Regions from separate parts of the Homo sapiens genome. Here regions 2, 3, 4, 5 and 6 are each linked to region 1. Evidence: promoter capture Hi-C in human tissues and cell types (Jung and others, 2019). All regions are on one chromosome and are shown on one strand. Each heading gives the region's core, a stretch centred on a gene start or on the middle of the fragment in contact. The rest is flanking DNA. Distances are from core to core; before and after follow the strand shown.

Region 1 (2,700 bases), core at 137-2,636:
TTAAGGAATAAAGATGGTGGGGCAGGTTGGGCAGAAGAAATTCAGGCACGACTGAAATGCAAAGCATTTCTGACACTGATAGGAAGGCTTATTGATAGAGAAAGGCTTGGGACCCACTGCTCCACATTTACAGCTTAAAAAGAAAAGAAAAGCAAAGGGACAAAACTAGTTTTTACCGACTTACAAGATATTTTCTACAACTAGGGAAGACACAGAGTAATGTCATCCAATACAGTTTAGAGTAGAATTCCATTGCGCCAATAAAGCACAAGGTACATTAAGAGGATTATTTTAAATATTCTGAACGCTTATTTAGCCTTAAGGTTCTATAGCAAAGGCAAAGGGTGGCAAAGACAAGATTATGCAACAAAACAGCGAAATTTTGCTTTCTAAAAAAAAGAGAATATGATTACACTTAACACCTCCTGGCAACAATGATCTCGTGCAGAATAAACACCCAAAGGCAAAGAGCTGAGACAGAGTCCTCGGTCCTTTCTGGTTTTTTTGTTTTTTGTTTTGTTTTGGTTTGGTTTGGTTTTTGTTTTTTTAAACAGAGACAGCCTCTGCCGGACCCAGTAGCTCACGCCTGTAATCCCAGCACTTTGGGAGGCAGAGGCGGGCGGATCACCTGAGGTCAGGCGTTCGAGACCAGCCTGACCAACATGGGGAAACCCCGTTTCTACTAAAAATACAAAAATTAGCCGGGCGTGGTGGCGGACGCCTGTAATCCCAGGAGCCAAGACCGCGCCACTACACTCCAGCCTGGGCGACAGAGCGAGACTCCGTCTCAAATAATAATAATAATGATAAAGTAATAATAATAGAAACAGCCTCTCACTCTGGCCCCCAGGCTGAAGTGCAGTGGCGCGATTTCGGCTCACTGAAACCTCCGCCCCCGCCGGGTTCAAGCATTCTCCCGCCTCAGCCTCCGGAGTAGATAAGACTATAGGCGGCGCCACCGCGCCCGGCTAAGTGCTTTTTTACGGAGACAGAAGTTCCGCCATGTTGCCCAGGCTGCTCTCGCCTGAGCTCACGCGATCCTCCCGCCTCGGCCTCCCAAAGCGCTGGGATTACAGGCTGGAGCCACCTCGCCGGGCCCTTCTCTGGTTCTTTAACGTCCCGCTACCGCGCAGGGGTGGACGCGGAGATAGGGGCTGGGCGCGGTGGACACGGCCGCTCAGGCCCAGCGCAGCCTCCTAGGGAGCCTCCGGACAGGCCGCGGGCAGGCGGCCGGGGCTGCGGGGGGTGCGGCCCAGGCCACGTACAGGGTCCCCCGGGAAACCCAGCTGCACGCCCCCTCGCCCCTTCGCCCTCTCACCCCTCGCCGCAGCACCTACCTGCAGCCCAAGCCTCTGCGGCTCCTGCCACCCCGGGCCAGCACGCACTGGGCCTACTGCGCTTGCGCGTTCGGAAGCGCGTCCTGGGCGGGTGAGCGTGGCGCTGCTGCCCCCTGGCGTCCTCCTCCGGCCGTGCACTGAAGCCGGAGCGAACGCCGCGGCGGTACCAGCGCGCACCTACCCAGTCTCCCTGTCTGGCTTCTGCTTCCCTAACTTGGGAGAACGATTTTGTGTTGACCGACTATTGCTTCAGCCTGGAGCCAGGCTCATGCAGAGCAGCTGTCAGATCTAGACGCACTGCGAGGCCTTCCAAAGCGTAGTCCTCAGACCCGCGGCATCTGCAGGGACCTTGCTGGAAAGGCTGATTCCCAGCTCCGGCCCAGACCCGCCACTCGGGGACCCAGATGCCTGAAGTTGGACAATCGCTCTGTAAAAGAAACTGTGGGGCTTAGCCTAGACGCAGTAAAGCTGAGCTGCACACATCAAGCGCAGCAGACAAGACCTTGGCAAGCCTCCGCGGAGGGGCAGGACTGGGCAAAGGCGGGGAAGTCCGTCGAGGGCCGGCCAGGAGCCCTGCCGGGAGCCCAACACGCACTCGGGCGCTTGCTCCGGGAAACCGAAAGGGAGGCTTGCAGCATCGAAGTCAGCTGGGTCATGGAACGTCTAGGTTGTGTACATCGGAAGCGTTAGCTGCTTCTACACTGACACACTGCGAAAGTCCAGAATCAAGACAGTAACATGGTGTGGGTTAAAAAAACTGAGCCGGTACTAGCTATCCAAACAGTATTAAAATTAACAGAAACGTTTGCCTATCACATGGACAAACAGCGGTAATACCTCCTGTCGTTACAGTAGAGTCTGAAAGTTTCCTCACACATACAAGTGAGTGTAAATTGGAATTCCTCCTACGTGCCCTAGCAAATCCATTTCTAGGAATTTATCCTTCAGAAATAACGTCTGTGGCCGGGCGCCGTGGCTCATGCCTGTAATCCCAGGACTTTGGGAGGCCGAGGTGGGCGGATCACGAGGTCAGGAGACCGAGACCATCCTGGATAACACGGTGAAACCCCGTCTCTACTAAAAATACAAAAAATTAGCCGGGCATGGTGGCGGGCGTGAGAATGGCGTGAACCCGGGAGGCGGAGCTTGCAGTGAGCCGAGATCGCGCCACTGTACTCCAGCCTGGGTGACAGAGCGAGACTCCGTCTCAAAAAAAAAAAAAAAAAAAAAGAAAAAGAAATAATATGTCTGCAAGATGTATGCACAAGAGATCTTGCTGAAGCATTGCTGATAAAAGATATTTATAATAGAGAAAAAAAGAAACCTGAATGTATAACAATAGGGGTTTCTGAAAGAAATTATA
Region 2 (2,850 bases), core at 195-2,694, 240 kb after region 1:
GGGCCCAGAAGTGAAGGCTGTGGTGAGCCTTGTGGGTTGCACCACTGCAGTCCAGCCTGAGTGACAGGAGATCCCATCTCAAAATGCTCAAGCCAGAGGTGCAAGCTTAATTCGGTGTTAATATCTGAATCCTTCTCTTGTTCTTTCTTTTTCTTTCTTTTTTTTTTTTTTTTGAGACGGAGTCTCACTCTGTCACCCAGGCTGGAGTGCAATGGCACAATCTCGGCTCACTGCAACCTCCGCTTCCTGGGCTCAAGCGATTCTCCTGCCTCAGTCTCCCGAGTAGCTGGGACTACAGATGCCCACCACCACACCCAACTAATTTTTCTATTTTTAGTAGAGACAGGGTTTCTACTAAACCCTGGCCAGGCTGGTCTGGAACTCCTGATCTCAGGTAATCCGCCAGTCCCGGCCTCCCAAATTGCTGAGATTACAGGTGTGAGCCACTGCACCCAGCCTCCTCTCTTACTCTTATAACCATCTATCAACAAGCCCTGGCATTTCTACCATTGACATGTCGAATCCTATCACTCTATACCCTCTGCCACCACCGCAGTCCAAGGAGAGTTCTGTGTGTCCAGGAGCCCAATGGGGGCTGTGGTGGTAGAGCCCAGGGAGCTGGAAGGAGGGCATGAAGTGAGGTTGAAGAAGCAGGAAGGCTGTTGATTTGGATTTACGTGCAGTGGGAAGACATGATCTAACAAACATTTTTAAAAGGTCATTCTGACTACCGTGTGTAGGGTTCATCAGAGAAGAGCAGCCGTGCAAGTGAGCAGACCCATCAAGAGGCTGTTGCATGCCTGGACACACAGAACTCTCCTGCCTGTACAGTCGGATGCAGGTCAGGGCCTCAGCATATACCCCATGACCGAATGCTCCCTTCAGCCTCACCACGTTTATGCTTCACGTTACTAGACTGTGTTTCCATCCTTTGGTTCTCAGGTTAAATGTTCCCTCCTCACTCAGACTACCCAAAAGTAGGCAGTGCAAAAGTAGTGCAAAAGTAGGCAGTGACCCTCCCCTCCCCTTACCCCAGGGCACTCTGAGGCATTCAGACATCTCAGCACAGCATCATCATATTGACATTTCCATTGTCTGTCTGCTTCTCACTAGAACACAAGCTCTATGAAAACAGAGACAATGTTAGTTTTGTCCACCCAGATATTCACAGATGTACCATTATGCCTGCCACCACAGTAGTGCTCAACACATTAAAGATTAATAAATAAAGCAAGGGAAAGACAGGAAAGGGCAGAAGACAAGGAAAGATCACTTCTTACTCAGTCATGGCTGCCGCCCAGGTCTAAGCCACCCTCACTTCTCACCTAAAGGATCACAGCGACCTTCCAGGCAGTCTCCCAGGCACCAAGTGCCTGGCTCCCTACATGCAACGCAGCCCGATGATCATCTCAAGTGTGACTCTGCTGGAAAGCCTGCTCTCCCTTTCCCACAGAGTAAAGGTAAAGTCCTCACGCCAGCCTGCAAGGCCCCATGTGACCTTGGTTGCTCATTTCCTCTCTAACCTCATCTCACATTTGTCCCCACAGCTCACTCTGCTCCAGCCATCCAGCCCTCCTTGCTGTCCTTTGAGCAGGCTGAAGACGCCCAGCCTCAGGAGCTCTGCCCTGGCCAGTCCCTCTGACTGCTAGGCTCCTCCGCCGGGCATCCTCACAGCCAACTCTCACCAACTCCAGATCTTCGCACAATAGCCATTTCCTCTGTTAGGCCTGTCCTGTCCACCATAAGGAAACTTGCAACTCCCTCAGCCCACAGAGCACCTCTCACCGGCTAACATACTCTGTGGTCACGTGTTTGCTATCTGCCTCCCTAATGTCTTTGAGAACATTAGCTCCCTGAGGGCAGAAATCTCCTTCACTGACATATCCCAAGCCCCCAGAACTATGCGTGCAGCATAGTCAGTAACTATTTGTTGAATCAATGAATGAGAAAACAATATCAGGGAACTCTAAGTTGAAATACACTTTCTCAGTTCACAATGTTATCCATTCTGACCTTTATCAGACACAGGCACAGAGGACCTCAGAGATATTCCCAGCAGTCTCAATATCCATGGTAATGCTAATAAACTACTATTCTGGCATTTTGGTAATGGCAGACCTCATTTTATTGTAATTTGCTTTATTGATTTTTGCAGATATTGTACTTTTTACAAATTGAATGTTTGTGGCATCGCGGCTTCGAGCAAGTCCATTGGCACCATTTTTCCAGCAGCACGTACTCAAGTCATGTCTCTGTCACATTTTGGTAATTCTCGCAATATTGCAAACTTTCTCATTATTATTATAGCTGTTATGGTGATCCGTGATCAGTGATCTTTAATGTTACTACTGATCTTTGTTTTGGAGTGCTACAAACCGCACCCACTTATGGTGAGCTTAATTGATACAAGTTGTATGTGTTCTCACTCACCACTGACTGGCCATTCCCTAGTCTCTCTCGCTCTCCTTGGGCCTCCCTATTGCCTGAGACACAACAACATTGAAATTAGGCCAATTAGTAACCATACCAATGCCCACTAAGTCCTTGCTAAGATTCTTACTTTCAATCATAAGGTAGAAATGATCAAGTGTAGTGAGGAAGGCATGTTGAAAGGCACGACAGGCTGAGAGCTAGGCCTCTTGTGCCAAACAGCCAAGTTGTGAATGTAAAGGAAAAAAAATTTTTTTTTTGAGACAGAGTCTCACTCTGTCGCCCAGGCTGGAGTGCAGTGGCGCTATCTTGGCTCACTGCAACCTCCGCCTCCCGGGTTCATGCCATTCTCCTGCCTCAGCCTCCTGAGTAGCTGGAACTACAGGTGCCCACCACCATGCCCAGCTAATTTTTTGGGTT
Region 3 (2,700 bases), core at 28-2,527, 240 kb before region 1:
AGAATGTGAGCACAAAGATTAAGCACATGAAGTCTAGATGCTTACTAAGAACTTGAAAGGAAAAGTGTAAAATACTTGGAAGCTAAGAATAGGAGATGAATCTACACTACACTTGAATGCTATATTAAAAAGCTGGAGTCCACTGAATATGAGAAATGACTGTTAAACATGAAAATCACAATTAGATTTGGGCTATATTTCTGTTTCTATTATTCAATATAATAATGTTTACCTTTAAATACAATTTCAAAAGTAGCTGTGGCACATAAAACATGAAAGACGAAATCAGGAAAATGTCTTCAGGGAGGGTGTATTAGTCCATTTTCACACTGCTATAAAGAAATACTGAAGACTGGGTAATTCATAAAGGCTAAGTTTCTCCTTGGTCCCTTTTAGCCACAGTTGGACCTGTAGTGGCTGAATGCAGGGCAGCAAGTCCTGAGGCTGCACACAGTACCAGGGCCCTGGACCCAAACCTATGAAACCATTTTTTCCTTCCAGGACTCTGGGCCTGTGATGCGAGTGGCTGCCACGAAGATCTCTGTCATGCCCTAAAGACACTTTCTCCATTTCATGGCAATTAACATTCCGCTCCTCGTTATTTATGCAAATTTCTGCAGCCAACTTGCATTCGTCCATAGAAAATGTGTTGTTTCTCTTTTCTACCAAATGGTCAGGCTACAAATTTTCCAAATTTATGCTCTGCTTCCCTTTTAAACATAAGCCCCAGCTTAAAACCATCTCTTTGTGAATGCATAAAACTGAATGCTTTCAGAATCAACCAGGTCACCTCTTGAATGCCTTGCTGCTTAGAAATTTCTTCTACCAGATAGCCTAAATCATCTCTCTCAAGTTCAAAGTTTTACAGATTGCTAGTGCAGGGGCAAAATGCTGTCAGTCTCTTTGCTAAAGCATATCAAGAGTCACCTTTGTTCCAGTCCCCAACAAGTTCCTTATCTCCACCTAAGATCACCTCAGCCTGGACTTCATTGGCCATATCACTATCAGCATTTTGGTAAAAAAAACTATTCAACAAGTCTGTAGGAAGTTCCAAACTTTCCCACATCTTCCTGTCTTCTTTTGAGCCCTCCAAACTGTTAAAACCTCTGTTACTCAGTTCCAAAGTCACTTCCACCTTTTCACATTATCTTTTTAACAATACCCCACTATCCCTGGTACCAATTCTCTGTATTAGTCCATTTTCACACTGCTACAAAGAAATATCTGAGATGGGGTAATTCATAAAGGAAAGAAGCTTAATTGATTCACAGTTACACATGGCTGGGGAGGCCTCAGAAAACTTACAATCATGGTAAGGTGAAGGGGAAGCAGACACCTTCTTCATAAGGTGGCAGGAGAGAGAGAAGTGAAGGGGATAGAGCCCTTTAAGAAACCATCAGCTCTTGTGAAAACTCATTCACTATCATGAGAACAGCATGGGGGAAACCAACCCTATGATCTAATCACCTCCCACCAGGTCTTTCTCACAACACCTGGGAATCACAATTTGACATGAGATTTGGGTGGGGACACAAAGCCAACCTACATCGGGGGCTATCCTTACTTTTAAAATATCTAAATGTCATTATTTATATTTCAAAAATAGCAATTTTTGATTAGTTATGATTTTGTTTGAAAATAAAACAATCTGGTAAATGTTCTTCACTTTTAGCCTCCTATTTAGTCAAAATATAAAAAGCTGGATTTGCCAGCAGAAAATTGTAATTACTTTTTAATGAGGTAAACATGCACAAGAATATCACTATTATTGTACAAAGAAGAAAGTGAACAAGAAAAGGAATTTAAAAAGAGAGAATATCACTATCATACACATCCATGAACTGACAAAGAGATTAAAATCTCCCATTGGAGTTTATGTTAGGACTTGAGCAAAAGCTTCTAAAAACACTGAAAACAAAAACAAAACCATTATTTTTAAGAAATAAATTATACAGAGAACTCTTCTGGTTAAGACAAGACTATGTAGCAAAAAAAAAAAAAAAAAAAGGTCTTCCTGAGAGCTATTATTAACCAATTCATCTTGAAAAAACTTTAAAATTAAGTATGCAATTCTGGAATATAAAATAGTTTCATTTTGAAAATAGTTAATGGAAGGCAACCTTTAAACAGCACAAACTTAGAAAAGAACTGACCTGTAGCCATGATAACAAGAAGCCACCCAGGGCAAGTTCTAAATCTAGTCAATCGATCAATGACCGCTGCCCTTGCTTGCCCACCAATATCAATGTGAGCAGCTTGCTTCTGAAAGACAGCCAAGCAGCAGCAGCTGCTCCATCAGAGCAGACAGTGCCTGATCAGTACACCTCTTATACAGCAAGCAAAAAATTCCAACTCTGTTTTTTTATTTCAAATACTGAAGTTTCATAATCCGTTGGAAAGAATTTGTAAGTCCATTAAATTTACCACCCTAATATTTTTCAGATAAAATACCAGTAAAGTTTGCAATTCCTCTGATGCATTTTACCATAATTAAAATTATCATGATTACCAGTAAAATAATAAATGGTGAATAACCACAATATTGGGATTTTCTCCCTAAATGAAAAAATATTAAGAATGTAGCTTATTATAAAGAGCCAAAAGAATTTATGCATATAATTACCAGGCTAAGTTGTTAGAGTGAACCTTGTCAAACATTTTTTAAGTGAGAATCAATCAAATGTAATATACCCACGAGTA
Region 4 (2,824 bases), core at 260-2,759, 130 kb after region 1:
GTTTTTAGTAGAGATGTGGTTTCACCATGTTAGCCAGAATGGTCTTGATCTCTTGACCTCATGATCCGCCTGCCTCGGCCTCCCAAAGTGCTGGGATTACAGGCGTGAGCCACTGCGCCCGGCCATTAAAGCCTATTTTTAAAGAAGTACAATCAATCTCTACTTAAAACATTTACATCATTTTGGAATACTGCACGTGCAGAGCAAGATGTAAGAGTAACAATTCATTCTTATTTCATATTTGAAGAAACACCTCACCAGACAAGATATAGAGATGGCAAAGAAGCACACTAATAAATAATCATTAGTTATCAAGGAAATGCAAATTAAAATCACATTATTATATAACTACACTCCCACTAGAATAAATAAAATTAAAAAGACTGACTGTACCAAATGTTGGCAAAGAAACTTGTGGTGAGAATATAAAATGTTTCAAACATTTTGGAAAATAGTTTAGCAATTTCTTAAAGAATTAAACATGCAACTACCACATGACTGATTTAGCCATCCTACTCCTAGGTATTTACTCAGAGAAATAAAAGCATACGCCCACACGAAGACTTAGGAACAATGTTTATAGCAGCTTCATTTGTAATAGAAGAAAACTGGAAACAATCCAAACGTTTGCCAACAAGCAAATGGATAAATGATTTGCATCCCAAATCCAAAAATCCAAACTCAGAAATGCTTCAAAATCTGAATGTTTCTGAGCACCTACATGACACTCAAAAGAAATGTTCATTGGAGCCATTTCAGCTTTTGGATTTTTGGATTTAGGATGCTCAACCAGTAAGCATATAATGCGAATATCCCCAAATCCAAAAATATCCCGAATTTCATATATGGAATACTCAACCTGTACTACTACTCAGCAATAAGAAAGAATTAACAATTTACAGCTACAACATAGATGAATCTCAAAATAACGTAAGAAGTCAGACAAAAGGCTGGGTGCAGCAGCTCACACCTGTAATCCCAGCACTTTGGGAGGCCGAGGTGGGTGGATCACCTGAGGTCAGGAGTTCGAGACCAGCCTGGCCAACATGGTGAAACCCCATCTCTACTAAAAATACAAAAATTAGCCAGGCGTGGTGGCAAACGCCTGTAATCCCAGCTACTCAGGAGGCTGAGGCAAGAGAATAGCTTGAACCTGGGAGGCAGAAGTTGCAGTGAGCTAAGATCGTGCCATTGCACTCCAGACTGGGGGACAAGAGCGAGACTTTGTCTCAAAAAAAAAAAAAAAAAAAAAAGAAGAAGAAGTCAGACCAAAAAAAGTCAATATATTTGGCAGAACTCCTTTTTACACACAGACAAAAAGAATCTAATTTTCAAAACATAAACATGGCTGGCATGGTGGCTCCTGCCTGTAATCCTAGCACTTTGGGAGACTGAGGGAGGAGGATTACTTGAGCTAGGAGTTGGAGAACAGCCTGGGCAACACAGTGAGACCCTGTCTCCACAAAAAATAAAAAATTAGCTGGGTGTGGTGGTGAATGCCTATGGTCCCCACTACTTGGGAGGCTGAGGCAGGAGGATCACTCGAGTCCAAGAGGTCGAGGCTATAGTGAGCCACGATCACACCACTGCACTCCATCCTGGACGACAAAGCAAGACTCTATTTCAAAAAAAAAAAAAAAAACACACGGGCCAGGTGCAGTGGGTCACGCCTTTAATCCAAGCACTTTGGGAGGCCAAGTTGGTAGGACTGCTTGGGGCCAGGAGTTTTGAGACCAGCCTGGGTAGCATAACAAGACCCCATTTCTACCAAAAAAAAAAAAAAAAAAAGAAATGAAAATTTTAGCCAAGCCTAGTGGTAGGCACCTGTGGCCCCAGCTATTTGGAAGGCTGAGGTGGGAGGATCACTTAAGCCCAGGAAGTTGAGTGCAGCAAGCTGTGATCATGCCACTGCACTTCAGCCTAAATGACACAGCATGACCCTGTCTCAAAAAACAAAACAATGAGCCAGATGAGGTGGCTCACACCTGTAATCCCAGCACTTTGGGAGACGGAGGTGGGCAGATCACCGGAGCTCAGGAGTTTAAGACCAGCCTGGGCAATATGGCAAAACCCCAACTCTACGAAACATAAAAGAATTAGCTGGGTGTGGTGGCATGCGCTTGCAGTCCCTGCTACTCGGGAGGATGAGGTGGGAGGATTGCTTTAGCCCAGGAGGCGGAGGTTGCAGTGAGCCAAGATTGCACCACTGCACTCTAGCCTGGGTGACAGAGTGAGACCCTGTCTCAAAAAACAAAACAAAACATAAACATGATTATTTAAGAAAATAACAAAGCAAAGGGGCTTATAACAAAAACCTAGTTTCCTATGGAGTTTTCCCACTCTCCAGAGAATATTTTTACGGTTCCTAATTTTATTGCTTTTGGTTGTCACTTTACATATCTAAATAATGTTACACAATTATTTCTTGACTTATCAACCTTAGACATTATCTAGTGACTCTCTCCTCTGACATGTTTGATTATAGCAACTTGAGTCATTCCTTCCTACCATAAATATAGTTAATCACTGTTCTCACTTCTTTCATTGATCACCTCTGCAACTTTAAACTACTTACTGATTCATTTCACTCAGTCACCCACCCACTCATTCACTCACTCACCTACTATGTGCTAGGTATGGTTGCAGTTTTCTAAGTGCAAGGGATACAGTGATGAAAAAAGGGAAGTTCTTACTCATGTGTTATATATTCAAAACAAATTATAAGTAAAAACAAATCATTGCACAAGAAAGTAAATTAATAAATACATGTAAAAACCAGAATATAAAGTGCTATGCAGAGTGATATGGTTTGGATATTTATCCC
Region 5 (2,700 bases), core at 146-2,645, 210 kb after region 1:
GAATGGCTTTTATTTATTTATTGTTTTTGGTTGGGGGGTGGGGAGGTTGGGGGGCGGGGGACAGGGTCTTGCTCTGTCTCCCAGGCTGGAGTACAGTGGCGCTCTCTGGGCCTCACTACAACCTCTGCCTCCCAGGTTCAAGCGATTCTCCTGCCTTAGCCTCCAGAGTAGCTGACATTACAGGCACACGTCACCCGGCTAAATTTTGTATTTTTAGTAGAGACGGGGTTTCACCATGTTGACCAGGCTGGTCTCGAACTTCTGACCTCAGGTGATCCGCCTGCCTCAGCCTCCCATAATGCTGGGATTACAGGCGTGAGCCACTGCATCTGGCCCAAGAATGGCTTTTTTTTTTTAAAGGGGTTAAGCTTGAAGAGGAAAAAACATTTTTAAAAAATACATAAATAAATGATAAATTATAGTAATTGTTTTCCTTAAAAGAAATAGAATTTGGCTGGGTGCAGTGGCTCATGCCTGTAATCCCGGCACTTTGGGAGGCCGAGGCAGGTGGATCACGAGGTCAGGAGATCAAGACCATCCTGGCTAACACGGTGAAACCCTGTCTCTACTAAAATACAAAAAATTAGCCAGGCGTAGTGGTGCGCGCCTGTAGTCCCAGCTACTTGGGAGGCTGAGGGAGGGGAATTGCTTGAACCCGGGAGGCGGACGTTGCAGTGAGCTGAGATCCGCATCACTGCACTCCAGCCTGGCAACAGAGCAAGAGACTCCATCCAAAAAAAATAGAAATAGAATTTTGTTCTCCACAAAATAATGTGTCTGGCAAATTTTAAAGAACTCCATCAGTCCCCACTGGAGTTGTACTTAATTGCAGCCTATCAGAAACCAAATATATTAGAAGTCAGTTATATTTACATTGCTTTTATTAGTATATTTCATTTTCACTGTGTCATTTGTAACTCTCATCTTGTTTCTTCTTATTTTAGACCTGGAATGGCCAAATATCAAGGTGAAGTTCAAAGTTTGAAACTGGATGATGATTCAGTTATAGAAGGAGTAAGCGACCAAGTACTTGTGGCAGTTGTGGTCAGTTTCGCTTTGATTGCTACCCTGGTATATGCACTTTTCAGGTGAGATTTAAGGACAAAAGAATTGAGTAGATTTGCAAGGGCTGCTGACTTTTTGACCCCTAATAATGTATAATACTTAATATGAACAGCAAGTAACAGATCTCAGTGATTGTAGATGTTTACTAAGGTATTTTATTTTCCACGGGGCTTTGAATGCTAACATATATTTCCTGTCATCAGCTGTCTTACCAAATAATAATTAAATTTATCATCCACATTTTGAATAAAATATTAGTACTTTCTATTGGCGTATGGCAATTTAAAAAACTTTAATTTCCATAATTAAATCCATCAACTTGTAGGTGATATAGATGATAAGTGCAAAATACTTTCAGTTTTAAATGGAAAAATTGAGGCAAAAAAAGACTTGTATAGTAAAAAGGGAACTAATATTAGAATTAATTTTTTTACTTATTTATTTATTTATTTATTTTTTGAGACGGAGTCTCAATGTGTCGTCCAGGCTGGAGTGCCATGGCACTGTCTCAGCTCACCACAACCTCTGCCTCTGGGGTTCAAGCGATTCTCCTGCCTCAGCCTCCCAAATAGCTGGGATTACAGGCACATGCCACCATGCCCGGCTTATTTTATATTTTTAGTAGAGATGGGGTTTCTCCATGTTGATCAGGCTGGTCTCAAACTCCTGACCTGAGGTGATCCACCTGCGTCAGCCTCCCAAAGTGCTGGGATTACAGGCTTGAGCCACTGCACCTGGCCCTAATTTTTTGTATTTTTTTGTAGAGACAGGATTTCGCTAGGTTGGCCAGGCTGGTCTCAAACTCCTGACCTCAAGTGAACCACCCGACTCAGCCTCCCAAAGTGCTGGGATTACACTCATGAGCCACTATGCCCAGCCTATTTATTTATTTTAGAGACAGGGTCTCGCTACATTGCCCCAGTTGGACTTGAACTCCTGGACTCAAGCAGTCCTCCCATCCCAGCTTCCCAGGTTGCTGGGACTACAGGTATGCACCACTGCACCTGATTCTAAAATTAATTTAGGCTGGATGTGGTGGCTCACGCCGGTAATCCCAGCACCTTGGGAGGCTGAGGCAGGCGGATCACCTGAGGTCAGGAGTTCGAGACTAGCCTGGCCAACATGGTGAAACCCTCGTCTCTACTAAAAATACAAAAATTAGCTGGGCATGGTGGCAGGTGCCTATAATCCCAGCTACTTGGGCGGCTGAGGCGTGAGAATCACTTGAACTTGGGAGGCAGAGGTTGCAGTGATCCAAGATAGTCTCTTATTAGGGTAACATTATCTTGATTTCAATCGGGTATTTTATAGAGTGATAATCCAGAGTGATTGATACTGGTGATACACTGTGGATATCATGGGGGAAATAATGACTAGATGATAGCAGAGTTAAGTGAACTCCACTAAGCAGGTTGTTCTTAGGATTCCTGACTAATGTTTTAATATACACCAAATAGAAGGACATTGTATATTGCTGCAGGGCTCTGTCCTTGGGCCTTTTCTATTATTATTATTATTTTTTTTTTTGAGACCGAGTCTCACTCTGTTGCCCAGGCTGGAGTGCAGTGGCGTGATCTCGGCTCACTGCAAGCTCCACTTCCCGGGTTCACGCCATTCTCCTGCCTCAGCCTCCTG
Region 6 (2,856 bases), core at 179-2,678, 160 kb before region 1:
TACATGTTCTATGACCCAGCAATTCCATTCTGAGAAATATGCCCTAAAAATGTGTACATGTTTCCAAAAAATGTTAAATATTATTATTGCAGCACAATTAGCATCAACCCTACTCCAGAAACTCCTCAAAGGTCTGTAAATAGGAAAATGGATAAACAAAGTATCTATATTCACATGGACTGCAATAAAGCTATGAAAATGAATGACCTGTAACTATTCATAACAACATGAATGAATTTCACAAAAAATCATTTGTAAAAAGAAGGCACAAAAGAAAACTTACTGTATCACCCCACTTGTGAGAAACTCAAAGCCTGAGAAATCCAATCTAGAAATCTAATTAGAAGTTAGGATGTAGCTATGGAGAGACACGGCGATGAGTTGGGTGGGGAGGCTCAGTGCTGTTTCTTAATCTGTGCTGCTTTCACAGGTGCCTAACTCTGTAAAAGCTCTTTGAGCTGCACCCTTGTAATCAGGCATTTTTCTGTATTTAGATTTTGCTTTAAGTTCACTTTAGAAAATAATTATATTTTTAAAAGTAAGATAATTTAAAATTATCTTGGCCTCTGCTTTCTGCTATGAGCAGAAATCTACAATCTACAAATCTACAAGAGAAGATTCGTTTTATAAACTTGGTATTTATAAATTATAAAAAGATTTACATTTACTTCCATTTTGGACACTCTGAAGTGCTCTTTTCCATCAGTATATTTTAATCAAATATAATTCAATAATACACTGTTCAGTATTCCTGGAGAATGAAAACAGGGAGATACTACCTTCTCATAAACTGTCTAGCTGGTCAACCCCAAGGTATTCTCTCTCAGACATGAGAGAGAGTAAGAGAGACAGAGAATATACAAGCTCCTACCATGTGTTCTCTTCTGTAATATTCAAATCAAAGTTTGATTTGATTTGATCTAAGCCTTATTAAGTGGAATGGTGCTGACTGAGCAAATTCAGAGCAGAATGTGAAGGAAAAGTATTATAATGATATACATCCTGTTTTAGCCTTGATAAAACATTTCAAATCCGCCACCTGTACAAAATATATTTCTATATTTTAGTTTTTCAATTTGTGGAAGATCTGTATATTCTAGATAGGAAAGCCATCAGCAGGACCAGAGACTTTGAGCTTTGGAGGGCAAGACAAAACATTTTATACAAACGGTTTTCTTAAGCAGATTTTGACAGCTTTCCACTACTCTAAAAGAAATTCTTCCTTTCTTCCATATTTTTTCTTCCTTCCCTTCTTCCTTCCTCACTTTCTTTTTTTCTTCCTTCTTTCCTTTTTTTCTTGTTTTGTTTCTTTCCTGCTTTCTTTAAACAAACTACAGGAACTATTTCAAAATCAGGATGCTACTTTACTCTAAGAAAAATACAAATCCATACTATTAAGTAAGCAGTCTGTAAGTCCTCTCAGTATGTGACCAGAGCAAGGAAAAAAATAGATGAATTTTTCTTAAAAGCTCCATCAAAGTATAAAAACTTCTTAAATCTTCCTGAGGCATCTGAGTCCTCAAGGACTGTTTTTGTCTTTCTTTTCTCTCAAATTGTGGACATCAACTTAGGTAGTCTTTGTCACATTTATTCAAAAGGTTTTTAGAGAATTTTGTCAATAGCACAGGGACATCTAACTTATACATTACAATTACTTTCATAATAATAAACTACCATGTTCACTTTATTTTGTTTGTTCATGTTTTCAAATTTGACATGCAAAAAGCCCAATAGAAAGTGGAGTAAGCAGGGAATGACTGGGGAGAATAAATACTTCTCTATAAAAAATGCCTTATGAAACAATTTATTTAGTAAGCTTCACACATGTAGTTGCCATATGATTTAGTTAAGGTGTTTTCATTTACCAGTGACTAGAAGAATGCTTCAGTTGTAAAATGTTAGCTACATCTGTATTTCACATTTTTATTTTATAATATACATGTATCAGTATCCTCATTGTGTATAGGCCAATGAAAATACTTCTCAGAGGTACTTGCATGTAGAGCTAGAGCTAGAAATATGACTAGAATTGAAACTGCTTTCTGCTGTCTCCTAGATCATGCCTCCGAGGGTAGTGGGAGGCCTCATCTGCTTTTACTTTGAAAAAAGAAAATCTCTAGATTTTTGTCTATCTTTAGAACAAAATGTACAGAACTCAGCTTTCAACTAAAGAATCAAATGCTAAATTTTTGGCTGAGGGGTTATGCTACTTATATGACAAAATCATACATGTCAAAACTTAACATATTTTAATAAACAACATAACGTAAATTCTGATTCAACAGAAACATTGGAGAGTGGTGATTTTTTTTAATATGTGAAAGTATATGTATTTGTTTCCAAAAATATTTAAAATGACCATGATGGAATAATAAGTTTAAACAGTTTGAGTCAAACAGATAAACTTGCATGCATGAAAGCACATTAAACAGACTTCTTTGGATGGGAATATTTGTTGCAACTCTCAAGGCAAGATATATTTTTATGTCTCTTCTCAGTCATTGCTTCCCTCCCACTGTATTACCATTTTATCATTTAAATAAATGTAATTCGTCTTTAAATGAATACAGAAAAAAGAATCTAGAGCTTATTTCTTTAGCAATTTTCTTTATGCTTATCTGGTTCAGAAGATCACATGGTATATGGCTAAATTAGTTTCCCAGCCCATAAGCCACTTGAAAGACTAATAGTGAGACTTGGGTTGAGTAATCAACAAAGATTACAAGAATATTTCCAGAAGTGTCATTTAGATAGCAGCACTAATTTACTTTGACACATAATTACACATTTAGATAACCACAGTGTAACCATACACATGAGATTTTCTTGAGTAGAAAATCAGAATGAATCAGATAA

What was found. Contacts are between HindIII fragments. The study calls those that stand out against the background at their distance.
Region 2: a contact is called between a fragment that was not itself captured here and the fragment with the promoter of POMK in region 1, in 1 of the 25 tissues and cell types used here (spleen).
Region 3: a contact is called between a fragment that was not itself captured here and the fragment with the promoter of POMK in region 1, in 2 of the 25 tissues and cell types used here (lymphoblastoid cells and mesenchymal stem cells).
Region 4: a contact is called between a fragment that was not itself captured here and the fragment with the promoter of POMK in region 1, in 2 of the 25 tissues and cell types used here (aorta and mesendoderm cells).
Region 5: a contact is called between a fragment that was not itself captured here and the fragment with the promoter of POMK in region 1, in 1 of the 25 tissues and cell types used here (hippocampus).
Region 6: a fragment that was not itself captured here is called in contact with the fragment with the promoter of POMK in region 1 in 1 of the 25 tissues and cell types used here (lymphoblastoid cells).

Annotation. Positions count from the first base shown.
Region 1 is chr8:43,092,201-43,094,900 of GRCh38, reverse strand. It overlaps POMK (protein O-mannose kinase), which reads right to left and starts at 1,386. Exons shown (of 5, transcript NM_032237.5): 1 at 1,338-1,386. RefSeq lists a silencer at 1,149-1,358 and enhancers at 610-1,515, 1,516-2,422. The HindIII fragment of the contact is 5,704 bases long and covers 1-2,700 here.
Region 2 is chr8:42,848,888-42,851,737 of GRCh38, reverse strand. It overlaps a transcript of RNF170 not described here. Among named protein-coding and RNA genes, the nearest start is that of THAP1, 7.0 kb to the right of the region's middle. The HindIII fragment of the contact is 4,868 bases long and covers 1-2,850 here.
Region 3 is chr8:43,335,573-43,338,272 of GRCh38, reverse strand. The region is part of intron 9 of POTEA (POTE ankyrin domain family member A (gene/pseudogene)); the gene reads right to left. Among named protein-coding and RNA genes, the nearest start is that of POTEA, 44 kb to the right of the region's middle. The HindIII fragment of the contact is 4,537 bases long and covers 1-2,700 here.
Region 4 is chr8:42,961,226-42,964,049 of GRCh38, reverse strand. All of the region lies in intron 8 of HOOK3 (hook microtubule tethering protein 3), which reads right to left. Among named protein-coding and RNA genes, the nearest start is that of HOOK3, 66 kb to the right of the region's middle. The HindIII fragment of the contact is 8,862 bases long and covers 1-2,824 here.
Region 5 is chr8:42,886,116-42,888,815 of GRCh38, reverse strand. It overlaps RNF170 (ring finger protein 170), which reads left to right. Exons shown (of 7, transcript NM_030954.4): 2 at 945-1,088. The coding sequence starts at 952. Among named protein-coding and RNA genes, the nearest start is that of MIR4469, 8.8 kb to the left of the region's middle. The HindIII fragment of the contact is 7,579 bases long and covers 1-2,700 here.
Region 6 is chr8:43,254,125-43,256,980 of GRCh38, reverse strand. It overlaps the pseudogene AFG3L2P1. Among named protein-coding and RNA genes, the nearest start is that of POTEA, 37 kb to the left of the region's middle. The HindIII fragment of the contact is 6,739 bases long and covers 1-2,856 here.